Regions from separate parts of the Homo sapiens genome. Here all the other regions are linked to region 4. The links are contacts of gene promoters, found by promoter capture Hi-C in blood cells and fetal thymus (Javierre and others, 2016). All regions are on one chromosome and are shown on one strand. The core of a region is centred on a gene start or on the middle of the fragment in contact, and the rest is flanking DNA. Distances in the headings are between cores, read along the strand shown.

Region 1 (3,481 bases), core at 549-3,048, about 21 Mb before region 4:
ATCATACAAGCTTCACCAAAACACAAAAACTTAAGAAACTACACAATAAAATAGTTAGCAAATAGGTACACTTTAAATGTTTGCAGCAGACTTGAGAACATTCCCATCTGGCTGAATGTCTCGTAGTAACGTGACTCTTTATCAACAGTGAGCACATGAGTCTTCCTTGGCAGCCAAGTCTACACTACTTCAAGGTATGACCACACTTTAAAGAGTCATGATGGAAACGACTAGATTACGAAACCATAAACAGTAAACACAGCACATCCACCAGGCGGTGGAAGAAACTATAGAGATATTCCATTCAGAAGCTGCTATTTCTACTGTTGGTTAATGTATTTTTGTTTCTACCAAGGAAGCTGTGAAATCCGCGTGCACACCCATCCCAAATCTATCCGTGGGGCGGGCGCAGGCTGAGTCATTCCTAGGAGTAACTTTATACCGATCCTCGCACTCTGGGGTCGGGACAAAGACATCATCTCTCCGTTCCTCCCATTCGGTGAGCTTCGTTCGGCCTCGGCCAAACTCCACTCTCCCGTTTCTCGAGTCCAACACAGAATTAAGGGCTGATCCCTGGCAGCGATGAGCACAAGTCAAGATGCGTCTTGGGAGGTTCGGACGTCCCTCGCCCTCGGCCACTCCGGCAACTAGGCCGGGTACTAAGCGGCAGCGCAGAGGGAGGGATCCCAAGGCTCCGGCCGAGGAAGCCGCAGGCAGCCCCGCAGCACGAGTCCGACCCACACCTCCGGCAGCCTAGTGGAGCATCGACTCGAACCGCTTTTGTCTCCACAGGGGCTGTCGCGCCGGGAAAGCGGCCAGTGGGCAACACCTGCCGGGGCGGGAGGCGCCGGGGCCCTCCCGTGCACACACCTGCGCGTGGGCCGGGCTCAGGCCGACCGGAACCCTGGACCATGCGACCCCGGCCCACCGTGCCAGGGCCCGCCGCGCGACCGCTGTGCCAGATGGGGGAAGGGGACGCGGGCGGCGGCGACACTTACCCGGCAACGCCTCCTCCTTCGCCGGCGGCAGCAGCAGAGCCAGCGACCCCCGGCACCATCTTCCGCCGCCGCCTAGTCCTCGGCAGCGGTTACCAACCGCCCATTCGGCACCGCTAAGCCGACACAACCGCCGGCGTCCCGGGCGCCCGCCCGCCGCGGCCCCGAACTCTAGGAGGCAGGGAGGGGTCCGGGCGGACAAGGACGCGAGCAGGCCCCTCGGCTCTGGGTCTGGGGCCGGGGGACAGAAGGCCGCGGCCTGTCAGAGCCGAGGGGCCCAGGCGACTGGGGGATTCTGAGGCAACGCCGAGGGCTCGGCAGGGCCGCGGACACCGCCGCGGCTTGGTTTGTTATTGTCGACTCCGTCTCTTCCTCCGCGGCGCATGCCGGGAAACGGCCTGCCGGGGGAGGGGCGCGCCTGGAGGCGCAGAGAGGCGTCTACGCAGGTCCGGAAGTCGGCAGCCTGCCGGGAAGGGGGCGGCCCCGCCTCCGGCTCTCCGGCCGGCAGGTTGGCTGTCCTGGCCTGACCCTGGGAGACTCCGCTGGGGCCGCCTGTTATGGTGCTAGCTGCCGTCCCGGTGCGTACTTTCCCAAGGTGAATTTGACCTTCTTTGCGACAGCTAGGCCCTGACTAAGGTCGACCCACCAAACACTGGATCGTCCCCAGGCGAAAGAGAGCTTGTTCCCCTCAGCCTGTCGCGGAGGAGCGGAGCCAATCGAGGGTCTGGTGTCCCCGTCGCCTCTCCAGGGGCAACCTGCGGACTAGGCCAAGGTCTGTAACAGGATAACGTACCAGCGCCTGGCCCAGGCGTTCCTGCCGCCACCTCCCCGCATATCCGGACCGCCGGGACTGCACGCAGCTGGCAAGCGTCCCCCTGTTAACTCTGCAAGGGTGGGGCGGCACCATTTCTCAGACCAGGTAAGGCAAGAAAACATGCAAGAGAGAAGAGAGGGAAGCCTAGGCCAATCGGAATGAAAATGTAAACGCCACAACCACGTTTTCAGCTTTACAAATACTGAATCTTGTAGTGGGTCTAGTGGGTTAGGGGTTAGCATGAGCACCCTAATGGTTGGGAGACAGTTTCAGGGGACTCTTGCATTTGTGAAGATGATCAGTCACAGGCAATGACTTGAAGCCACGAGGCTTGAATATTAAAATCTGATGAGCAGATGTTACACGTAGAATAATTACATAATAGTTCTCAAATTCCTGTTATATCCAGGAATATCTGGTATGAGTGAAAACTTGGAGGTGCCTTCTCTAAAGTCATCAGGAATTCTGAGTTGTGTTTGTAAAAATAGGAGGCACAAGAGGGCACCAAACTGAACAAAATGTTAGGTGGAAACTGAAAAACGTTGGTTAGCATGAACAATTTCAGTTTTCAGTCACACTGACCAGTATCTGTAAGTTAGGATTGAGATGGGCTTGTTTTATTTATTTACTTTTAAATTTGTGCTGCTACATATCCCAAACAAATGTGGTCTTTATCATCACTGGCAAGCCATTTTACTTATTGGTTAAGCTGGAATTTTATTACACCACCCCAGCAAGATAGAGGAGAAAAGCGAAAATTAAGTAGTAAATGGTTATTATGCCTTAAGGGAAGGTGTGAACTGGCAAGACAAAAGAGCCAAATTTAGTAGTAAAGCATAGTCATCAGCACACAGAAAATAAGTGGTGAGGAGGAGTTTGGCCAGAAAATTGGCTAAGAAAAATGGCAGTATGACCAAGAATGAAAAGAAAAAGAAAGAAAAGAAAAACTGCAGTATGAGGCCTGTAAAGAACGTATTGGTACTTGCACTTCCTCTTATTAGTGACATTCATTATTACAAATATAACCCAATTTAGAATGTAAAAATCTTGCTGGAGCTCGGTGCAGTGGCTCACACCTGGAATCCCAGCACTTATGGGAGGCCGAGGCAGGAGGATTGCTTGAGCCCAGGAGTTGGAGACCAGCCTGGGCAACGTAGTGAAACCCCTTCTCTACAAAAAATACAAAAATTAGCTGGGCGTGGTGATGCACACCTGTGGTCCCAGTTACTCAGAAGGCTGAGGTGGGAGAATCAGTTGAGCCCAGGAGGTCGAGGCTGCAGTGAACCATCATGGCACCACTGCACTCCTAGCCTGGACAACAGATTGTTGCCCTGTCTGAAAAATAAAAAAAAATTTCTGAACTATGCCAGTGATAATCTGGTAAATTATAAATGTTGTCTGACTTTTTTCTTTGGAAAATGAATTAATTCAGTCCTAACCTTCTCTCTTAATCACAGGTTGCAATAAATTACCAGAAACGACTGGTTCATACCTTATACACCTCCAGTGTAAATGTTAAGAGTTTGTATATTCTTAACAGACTCTTAACAAACATCAGTAATTCTTTCCTAGGGATAAGTGAAAATGTACTAACATTAATTCTATTATATATATGCAAATATCTAGAGGAAATACTGTTTATAAGTTACTAATACATGTATCCATGGTAGTA
Region 2 (3,535 bases), core at 980-3,479, about 24 Mb after region 4:
TAGTTCATTCCTTTTTATTTCTGGGTCGTATTCCACTGTATGGGTCACTCCCAGAAAAAGCAGTCCTTATTTCCAACCCGGTGCAGAGCTGCAGGTAAACGGTTTCATACACAACAGCTTAACTTTGTCATTTACAAGAAATTAGAATTCCCACTTTAGGCCAGACTTGATTTTAACTTCTTTACATATGGCACCACTTCAATTTAAAGGTTTTTTTGTTTTGTTTTGAGACAGAATCTCCTTCTGTCACCCAGGCTGGAGTGCAGTAGCACGATCTCAGCTCACTGCAGCCTCCACCTTCTGGGTTCAAGTTATTTTCATGCCTCAGCCACCTGAGTAGCTGGGATTACAGGCGTGAGCCACAGCACCAGCCATTATTGTAATAGTTTAATTTGAAAATTCACAGGTGGGCCGGGAGCGGTGGCTCACGCCTGTAATCCCAGCACTTTGGGAGGCCCATGCGCGCGGATCACGAAGTCAGGGCGACTGCAGCCTCGGCAACACAGCGAGACTCCATCTCAAAAAATAAAAAATAAAAAATTCACAGATGTTTATCTAGAATGGTCAGAATAGTCAGTGGAACTTCTTAGGAAAATCATGACCCTTCACATCTCTAGAACCAAAACACGTGCAGAAATCTTATTTCACAAATATAAATGGAATTTGGAAACTTTGAGTTAAAGCAGATCCCAATAACATTTGCTAAGTTTTTGGCCTCCTAATTTAATTTAGTCTTTAATCATAAGTCTTGGCAAGTGTAGTATGCTTTTATTATTTATTATTTACAAAACTCCCTTCCACACATGAATCACAATATGCATTACGACACTGTTGCAAAATAGGTCAAAATACATTTTTGGTATTTGGTGGTTATTAATATTACCCCTGCTGTATTCCTTGAGAAAGCCTGTATTTAGTTCACTTAAGACAGTTGCTTACACGCTAATGATCATTTACCGATAAAATACAGAGTTTCCTTATAGCAAAATATAATCTTAAAACCCTAAGGCAGCCTTCAAGCATTTCCCTTATAATTAAAACCTGAAGGCCTGGCGTGGTGGCTCACGCCTGTAATCCCAGCACTTTGGGAGGCTGAGGTGGGCGGATCACGAGGTCAGGAGATCAAGACCATCCTGGCTAACACGGTGAAACCCCGTCTCTACTAAAAATACAAAAAATTAGCCGGGCGTGGTGGTGGGTGCCTATAGTCCCAGCTGCTCGGGAGGCTGAGGCAGGAGAATGGCTTGAACCCAGGAGGCGGACCTTGCAGTGAGCGGAGATAGTGCCACTGCACTCCAGCCCGGGCGACAGAGCGAGACTCTTGTCTCAAAAAAAAAAAATTTGAAAAGGCAGTTCGTTTCCTTCTATAGCTGCATCCCAGAGATGGTCAACATAGCATATAAAAATGGAATTTTTGCAAACCCCTTTTGCAGTGTTGTAGAAAAGCTTAAAATAAAACGTAACGAGAAAGCTCCCTCCATAAGTAAATACAATCTAATGTGCTTCCCCTTATGTGTTATTAAAGCTACAAATTAGTAGGAAAAGAATAGTGCCGCCCACGGGCTTTCCAACTTTTGAATTCTGGGGACTAACAACAGAGAGCAAGAGTGAATGAGCCAAACGACGCAAACGTGCCCTCGCCAGGCTGGCAACTGGTAGGCACGCAGTGTATTAGTTGCCCTGGAGAGAAACACCCTGGAGAGAAATACCCAATTTGTGAACTAAACCTAGGTCCCGGAAGAACAGTGTTCGGCGTCAGACTCCGTTGAGCTCATTCTGGAAGGATCCAACTGGCGCCACCAGGGAGAAAAAGCGATTCCACCTCAATAACACTCCAGAAAAAGGCATGAAGAGCCCTATACCTGCCAGGGCGACTTTGACCTAGACCCGGTGACCCGGTTCCTAGCGCTGCAGCCCTACCCGCCCCCCGCCCGCCCCCGCCTTGCACGGAGCCCCTCCTCTGTACTCATTCGTTGCGCCACGTCTCCTAACTCTGCGCCACCAGCCACCCCGCGAAGGCGTCCACCAATTAACCCCTCCCAGCTTCTGGTCTACAGTAACGGGTCCCCAACGCCGCGTCTTAACCAGGCCCGAACCGACCACCGCCAACCTTCCCTGACACGCCTTTGCCCCACCCGACCCCGCCCGCCCCCACGTGACGCCCACGCCCCGCCCACTGGCGCCCACGTGACCCACGGTCGTCCCCGCGCGCGGCGTGGATCGCGGCCCAAGCCGCCATTGTTCCGCCGAGGGAGGACAGCGGGGCCTGGCGCTGGCGCCGAGACGCCGCTTAGCGGCCGCCACTGGAGACACTCCCTCCCGCCTCCCGGGTCTCCTGGCGGCGGCGGAGTGAGGCTGACAGCGGGGAACCTGGGAGACCCCTCCGCCCTCCCCGCGGTGGCAGCGGCCGATCCCCGGCTCCGGCGCGAGGGACGGCCGCGATGCGCTCGGCCTGAGGTTACCCGGCCCGGCCCTTCCTCGCTTCCCTCGACTATTCCACTGCGTCTCCGCGCCCCGGCGTCATCCTGCGAGTCCCTCTGACGGGAGGGAAGATGGCTGCACGGAGCTGGCAGGACGAGCTGGCCCAGCAGGCCGAGGAGGGCTCGGCCCGGCTGCGGGAAATGCTCTCGGTCGGCCTAGGCTTTCTGCGCACCGAGCTGGGCCTCGACCTGGGGCTGGAGCCGAAACGGTACCCCGGCTGGGTGATCCTGGTGGGCACTGGCGCGCTCGGGCTGCTGCTGCTGTTTCTGCTGGGCTACGGCTGGGCCGCGGCTTGCGCCGGCGCCCGCAAAAAGCGGAGGAGCCCGCCCCGCAAGCGGGAGGAGGCGGCGGCCGTGCCGGCCGCGGCCCCCGACGACCTGGCCTTGCTGAAGAATCTCCGGAGCGAGGAACAGAAGAAGAAGAACCGGAAGAAACTGTCCGAGAAGCCCAAAGTGAGTATGGGATGAGCGGCAGTAGAGAACGGGCGAAGGGCGGGCGTGGAGACCCTCGAGCTTGGGGGAGGCCGCGCCCCAGCCGGGAAGGAAAAGAGTGCTTAGTCGAAAGCCGAGAGGCAGCACTCCCAAGTGGAGGAGGAGGTGATAGGTGGTCATGTTATTTGGGGAATGGGGGGAACTCAGGAAGTATAGGACGAGTGGGGAAGCCCAGTTTCGAGGAAGGAAGTTAGGAGGTCTGGGGGTCCGTTCAGATAGGCGCCCAGAGGTCAAGCCATCTTTGGGAACCGTCACCGCTAGAATAAGCACAGCATCCTTCCTTGAGGCCTGCAGAGTAGGCTGCATGTGGAGCGTAATGGGACCTTAAGGTGGTGTTAGGAAGTTGTATAAAGACTGCGCTCGGAAGACAGATGTCTATCTCAAGTCACATTGAGACAGTAGGCAGTGGAAGAAGTGCGGTGACCTAGAAATTCTGGGGCTTACACAGGATTAAAGGTGTCCAGGTCTAGACGCGCTTCCATTTTAGTTGGGACTGTTAAAGGGAAATGGTTGCCCATTCTTGTTCTGGCAAATGTGGCCAACAGAGGCCGGAACGGGAGCAA
Region 3 (3,323 bases), core at 316-2,815, about 55 Mb before region 4:
AAACCGGGGAATTCCACGGTGAGAAAGAAGGTTCAATATGTCCTTTGTCTAATTGCTCTTTTGCTAGTCAATGTAATGCCTCCAGTTTTTGCTGAGGAGGCGGCTACTGATCAACCCACACAGGTTTTTGAGTTTTCCATTTCAATGGGATGGGCTTTGGAGGCTCAACAGTGGCCGCCCCTAAAAAGAGTACCCAATTCCTTTTCGGTCAAGTTTAACTGAAGCTTCAATTGGCTGAGTTATTCCATCCTCATTCTTTCCTAATGTTTTTCCAGGAGTATACCCCAACTTAGTCATCATGCTTTGACTCTCTGAACTGTAAATCATAGAGGGAATGGTGATTTCCGTACCCCACTGTTGTAACAAATCTTTTCCCCACAAATTAATGGGAATGGCAGTAATTATAGGTTGGATGGTGCCTTCCTGTCCATCTGGTACTAAACAGTGTAAAATTGTAACACTCTGATAAACTTCAGATGCCATGCCTATTCCAATTAAACCCATAGAAGCTCTCTGTTTGGGCCATGTTTTTGGCCACTGATCCAGGGCTGTAACAGAAATATTAGCGCCTGTATCGACAAGTCCTTCAAAGAGTTTTCCCTGAATCGTTATTGTGCACACAGGTCTATTTTCAGAAACTTGACTTACCCAATAAGTTGCTTTTCCTTTGCTATCAGTGCTGCCGAAACCACCTTCTCTTTTTACTGTACTTTCTCCTACTTAGGTAATAACAACAATTAGGTAATAAGGTAATAACAACAATTGAGCAATTCTCTCTGCCTGGCTTGCACTCCAAGGAATACTAGAACTAATAACCAATTGAATTTCTCCCACAAAATCGGAATCTATCACTCCAGTATAAATTTGAACTCCTTTTAAATTTAGACTAAATCTCCCTAAAACAAGTCCAACTGTTACCTCAGGTAAAGGGCCAAATACTCCAGAGGGCACCTTTTGAGGTGGTTCCCCTGGAAGCAGAGACACAGCTCTGGTGCAACATAAATCTAAAGCAGCGCCCCCTGTTGTAACTGGCGCCAATTATGTTACTGTGGTGGTCACTTGAGGGATTAAGGGCACTGGTGCCCACTGACGGACAAACTGCTGGAGAGGGAATGCCCCAGTTTGGAGTGGGGCCTGAGGCTGGCCCCTCTTCCCATTTCCCAATTGCGCCTGCAAGGGTTGGCCATTTTCATCAAATTTGGAGTGACACCGTTTAGCCCAACATTTACCCTTCTGGCACCTGGGACATAAGCCAGGTGGCTCCTTTGTTTGATTAGATCTGGATTGTTTGTTTGATTTGTTCTTATATTCCTTTTTTGTATTTCCAAATTGCCCACAGTTATAACAATTGCCTGAAAAGTTTTTCACTGGATCTCCCACCTTTGATCCTGCCATGTTTTGAGCCATTATCATAGCCTTATGCATGATTCCACCAATCTATCACATGCCCTGATATACTCATTGATTACATCAACTCCCACCAGAACCTTTCCTTTCACAGAGCGAATAGGTGATTGACAGTCAGGGTTGGCATTTTCATAAGCCAAGAATTCTATAATCACCTTCCTGGCACTTTCATCAGTGAGAGCCTTCTGAGCTGCATCTTGAAGAGGAGCAATAAAATCAGGATACGGTTCTTTTGAGCCTTGTCTGACAGAATTAAAAGAGGGATAAGTAGTTCCCGGGTCCTGAATTTTTTCCCATGCCCTCAAGCAACAATTGCGAATTTGCTCAACGGCATCATCCTGAAGCACTAATTGTTGTACAGTTCCTCATTGGCCCCCAACTCCCAACAGTTGTTCAAGTGAAATGGCAACAACAGGATTAGCAGCACGGTTTTTTTGATCTTGATTTTGAGCCTCATCGGTCCACCAACTTTTAAATTGAAGAAATTGGGAGGGCGAAAGAGTAGCTTTTGCTAAAATCTCCCAATCGTCCGGGGCCAATCGCTTGTCCTGAGTTACTGAGTGTAATAGTGACTGGACAGAAGGCGAATTGGGACCTTACTGACCAACAGCTGCTTTGAGATCTTTAAGCAGCTTAAAAGAAAATGGTTCCCATACCGCCTGATGGGCACCACCCTGCTGCTGTGGGAGTTCCAAAACTACTGGAAACTGCCAGGCATCGGGATCTCCAGCTAACCTAGCCTGCCGAATAACCATTTGAAATGGTGATTCATTGACATTAGGTGGCAGTGCAGCCCTATGCTGTACTGGTGCTGCAAAACGTGTTCTTGATTCCTGAGCCCCTAATTTATCCATTCGTGAAACAGGGCAAATTGGAGATTCAAACCTCCAAGGCTCCAGGTTACGTTGCCTTATTGGAGGTGGCCACTCCGGATGATCCCAATGAGGAGCCAAAGATTCCTCAAGGCCCTTCTTTGTTTTAAACATATTGGCATAAATAGCTTCTCTATTTTAGGAGCAGCTGGAGGTCCCACATGCTCCTCAAAAGAAATTAAGTCATCTCCAGGTTTGTCTGTACTTTCCTCAAAATCTTCTTCACTATCCTCTCCTCCTTCAACTTCCTTTATATTTATATTGGCGGCAGCACCGCCTTCCTCCGCTGGAATTCTTTCTGCCGGAGGATAAACCTCGTTTTCCATTTGAAACGGTTCCAAGGCTGCTTTAACCATAGCCCAGTCTGACCAGACCGTTAGAAGAATAAGTTTTCCTTCCTTATGAACTTGTTTTAAGGCAATTCCAACCTGCTCCCAATCTTTTAAATCCATGGTACCTTATTCAGGAAACCAAGGGCAATACTGCTCTACTGTTTGAAACAGAGTAATCAAGTTTTCTGTGCTAGCCTTTATTACCCCCCTCTTTAAGAGGAGTTTGATAAAGTGTAAGTAAGCAGAGTGCTTACTTCCCGATTGTCCCATGGTGTCCCTGGAATACTCCGAGCACACAAGCTTACCGCAAGGCCGACCACACGTTCTTGGGAGTCCCTCGACAGACTGGTCTCCGCAATGACCATGCTCAGGTGTAACTCCACCTGGGTACAAGGAGCCCACACTGGGTGCCAAAGATGTAGGGGAACCAGCCCGCTACACCACATGCGTGTTCTCCCCTTCCCGGTGGAAATGAAGGAATGAGAAAAGAAATAAAGACACAAAGTTCAAGAGTTAACAAAAGTGGGTCCAGGGTTCCATCACAACACGGAAACTGCGAAGGCCTTGAGCTCTGGATTCCACTGATGTTTATTGAGTACAATTCCTTTGATCCTATGGGCTGAGGGTGGGCAGATGGTTGGGTGATCATAGAGTGACCATGGGGAGAGGTGGCAGAGGGGCTTAACAGAACAGGATGTGAAAGCAGATAGCC
Region 4 (3,151 bases), core at 382-2,881:
AAACAGATAGGAATCCTCTCATGTTACACACTGAATTTCTGTATTCTATTAAGAGAAGGGATAGGAGCTTGGGGAACATGGCTTGCAACTAAACCATTAGTGATCAGCACCCTCCTTGTTCTAGCTTCCCCTAAAATATTGTTACTCCGGTGTTTCAGAATCAGGGCTCCCAGAAGTAATGTGAAGGTTTTTTTTTTTTTTCCCATTCAAACCCGAATGCAGTAAAACTGAACTTACCCTCTGATTCTGATGACAAACGCCAATTTGGGTTCTGCAGGTACATAGAAGTTGCCAGCTTTTCTTGCCATCCTCGCCATTCGAATTTCAGTTCTGTACATCTGCCTATATTCCTTGTGATAGTGCTTTGCTTTTTCATAGATAAGCTTCCTCCTTGCCTTTCGAAGCTGAAAACCAATAATCAGTTATTCATAATTTTTAGCTCAATCACAATTAGCAATGCCAATCATTAAAAAGAAAACTACAACATGTTTCCTTTAAATCTTTTCTTGCCACAGTATGCAATTACATCCCCCACCAAAAAACCCCACTACCTTCAGATTGTAACATTAGGTAGCTAAGCAATTACTCAGTACAGTTAGGAAGTAAATCTTGCCAAGAACATTCACCTCATCCTCAATCCCAATAAGGCGCCTCCTTATGTGCTAGTGCCTCAAAAAGTTTACTTACCATCTTTTGGGCAAACTTCTTTCTCAGGCGCTTGATCTTCAGCTCTGCGAAATTCCTTCGCTTTTTCTTAAGGGTTTCTGGCACAGCAGGAACCTCCTTCTTCTTCTCTCTAACGTTAATAAACAAAAATGTTATCAATAGCTCAAAAAGCTCACAGCGCTGTATTACTCCCGTACTGAGCAGTGTTGTTTACCAGAAATGCTGTCACTGACTTTAGTCACTAGTAACTTTACTTGCTCTGGCATGCTACAGTGTACGATGCATATTTTAGCTCCATGTCAATAACCTTTAACACCATGTTGCCTAAAACGCAATCACAAATATGACAATAGCAATACGTTTTTCCCTATTTCAACCAAGAGGCCCGGCCTCCGACGACTAATTAAAAAAAAAAACAAAAAAAACACACCAACACCCGAATAACAAAATGTACTAGCTGAAAGACTACTGCAAGGCACTGACCCCGAGACTTTAAGCGCAAAAATTAAAAAATAAAAATAAAAAAAAAACAAGCCACCACCACTCTGGTTCAATCAGGATCCACATGTTGAAAGCAAAGGCCTGGCGGCAGGGAGGCCTGTACCAAGCACCAGCCAAGGACGAACACAATTCAGAGGTTCTGCGCCTCCCCCGAAAGACCCTCTACCGAGGACTGGGCCGTCAGCCAACCGACGGGTTCCACACACATTCCAACCCGACATCTCGTTCCCGGGATCTCCAAAACCTCCGTCCTAAGACCGCCCGCATCCCAACCCTAGCCTCAGGTCCCCACTGGTGTCACACAGCGTTCACAATCAAGCAGGGAGGTGGGCAAAGGTGCAAGCTACGGCCAGAGAGAGAAAAAGTGACACAAAAAGTATCTGGCTCTGGAGATGGAGAAGGATTCTCAAGAGGACCAGAAGCAACTCACTCTACACCCTCCATGGTTCCAGCCGGAAAAAGAGGAAGTTGGCGCATGCGTACTGTCCACTTAAAGACTTCGCGAGAGAAGCCCCACGACTCATAGGTGTCTTAGAATAAGCCGGAAAAGAATCCAGAACTAAAAAGCCGCCTTGCAGACGCAAAGAACTCCCTGATTTAGCCTCTTTCAACAAACTTTCGGGTAAAACTTGTTTGAAGAAAATATATGCATTTGATTAGACTTTTTAATCAATTCAAGAGCAAAGAGTGCTGACACCTTGGCAACTCCGGGTCCTAATCCCCAGGCTGCGCTGACAGGATTAGGCTCCGTTCCTCCCCATAATGTTCCCAGGACGAGCCTCATGGGGACGAACTACAAATCCCAGCATGCACCAGTCTTCGCCCGCCCGGCGGGAGGGCAACGGCTGACCAGGACCGCAGGCAAGCACCGCGGCGACGGTTCCAGCCAGGAAAATGAGAGCCTCTTGGGCCACGTTCCAAACGGCTAGCTGCAATTCGAAGTCACTTTTGGCCGCCCTCCCGGCTCCCTGCCGCGGTAGTCGCAGACTACACCCCTTTCGCCGCTCCGCGAGGTCCTTGTCGTCGCTCCAGCCCACAGGGCTGTCTTCCGCAGCGCCTGATCGCAGGCGGGGCGGTCTGGAGTGCTCTAGCTTACGAAAAGTGGCTAGCCAGGGACCAGTGGGGACCGGACGGCCGGAGGAGGATGGCCGGGGCTCTGCTGACTGCCGAGCTCGGCAGGCGGAGGCCAGGACACCCCACGGGAGGGGGCGTGAGCTGCGAAGGGAGGTGCGAGGAGGGCTGAGGTTGCGGCCACGGCCGTGTGAGAGGGGCTACCCGGCTCGGCTCCGCGGACGGCTGGCGGGCTGGGGGCTGGGCCGGGGGCGGGGTGCGCCCGGGGGCGGGGAGGCCGGGCGGAGGGAGGGCCGATGCCGAGGCTGGCGCGGGCTCTTCCCGGTCGCGGGGTTATATAGCGCGGAGCGTGGAGCCCGCTCAGAGCCGGCCCGGAGCGCTCTGACTTGCAAGCGGGCTGCGCTGCGGAGCCCAGTGCCCGAGTGACACCCGCGGAGAGTGCAGGGCCGGGGAACGCGAGCCCTCGGGGGCAGCTGCAAGGCGTTGGGCAGCGCTTGCCTGCGCCGAGCGAGTCTCCCCTTCCCGGCGCTCCGCCGCCCCGCACCCCACTCTCCCACCCTCTCGCAACTTGGGTCGAGTTGACAACTCCCGCGGCAGCCCGCTGGCCCGTGCCGCCTCCGCTGCGCACCCCTCCCCCGGGGTGAGAGGGAGCCGGCGCGCCGGTTCCGGGGACGCTCGGGCGGCAGCAGCTTGGCCATGAGGGCAGTTCGAGTAGTCTAACTCGCGGCTGTCACCGCCACTGCAGCGGAGCCGGCCGGCCGGGCGCTGCGGGACGGGCGGGCGGCTGCCGGCAGGAGGCGCCGAGCCGGGTGACTGCCGCGGCGGGCACAGTCCGGGGCCACAGCGCCGAGCCCGGGCGGGAGTGGCCCCGCGCAGGCAGGGAGCGGCGCCGCGCACTCCAACCCGGCGGGCA

The links. The method cuts DNA at HindIII sites, captures the fragments that hold promoters and counts their contacts. A CHiCAGO score of 5 or more calls a contact.
Region 1: a fragment that was not itself captured here is called in contact with the fragment with the promoter of RPL7 in region 4 in 2 of 17 cell types (total CD4 T cells and activated CD4 T cells); the score reaches 10.1 in total CD4 T cells.
Region 2: a contact is called between the fragment with the promoter of MTDH here and the fragment with the promoter of RPL7 in region 4, in 4 of 17 cell types (activated CD4 T cells, naive CD4 T cells, non-activated CD4 T cells and 1 more). The highest score is 8.8, in activated CD4 T cells.
Region 3: a fragment that was not itself captured here is called in contact with the fragment with the promoter of RPL7 in region 4 in 1 of 17 cell types (non-activated CD4 T cells); the score reaches 5.7 in non-activated CD4 T cells.

What each region holds. Positions count from the first base shown.
Region 1 is chr8:52,713,077-52,716,557 of GRCh38, forward strand. RB1CC1 (RB1 inducible coiled-coil 1) reads right to left here and starts at 1,359. Exons shown (of 24, transcript NM_014781.5): 1 at 999-1,359. RefSeq lists silencers at 814-1,283, 1,314-1,483 and enhancers at 1,544-1,853, 1,874-1,923. The HindIII fragment of the contact is 3,580 bases long and covers 9-3,481 here.
Region 2 is chr8:97,641,955-97,645,489 of GRCh38, forward strand. MTDH (metadherin) reads left to right here and starts at 2,230. Exons shown (of 12, transcript NM_178812.4): 1 at 2,230-2,933. The coding sequence starts at 2,553. RefSeq lists silencers at 1,818-1,927, 2,108-2,567, 2,838-2,907, 3,191-3,359 and enhancers at 2,080-3,060, 3,061-3,535. The HindIII fragment of the contact is 3,502 bases long and covers 1,445-3,535 here.
Region 3 is chr8:17,912,814-17,916,136 of GRCh38, forward strand. LOC124901892 (endogenous retrovirus group K member 25 Env polyprotein-like) reads right to left here and starts at 3,174. Exons shown (of 1, transcript XM_047422511.1): 1 at 1-3,174. RefSeq lists an enhancer at 1-259. The HindIII fragment of the contact is 2,687 bases long and covers 223-2,909 here.
Region 4 is chr8:73,292,002-73,295,152 of GRCh38, forward strand. RPL7 (ribosomal protein L7) reads right to left here and starts at 1,632. Exons shown (of 7, transcript NM_000971.4): 1 at 1,598-1,632; 2 at 688-796; 3 at 238-404. The coding sequence starts at 1,611. It overlaps RDH10 (retinol dehydrogenase 10), which reads left to right and starts at 2,601. Exons shown (of 6, transcript NM_172037.5): 1 at 2,601-3,151. RefSeq lists enhancers at 884-1,592, 1,214-1,263, 1,274-1,633, 1,593-2,300, 1,754-2,243 and a silencer at 2,334-3,151. The HindIII fragment of the contact is 6,100 bases long and covers 382-3,151 here.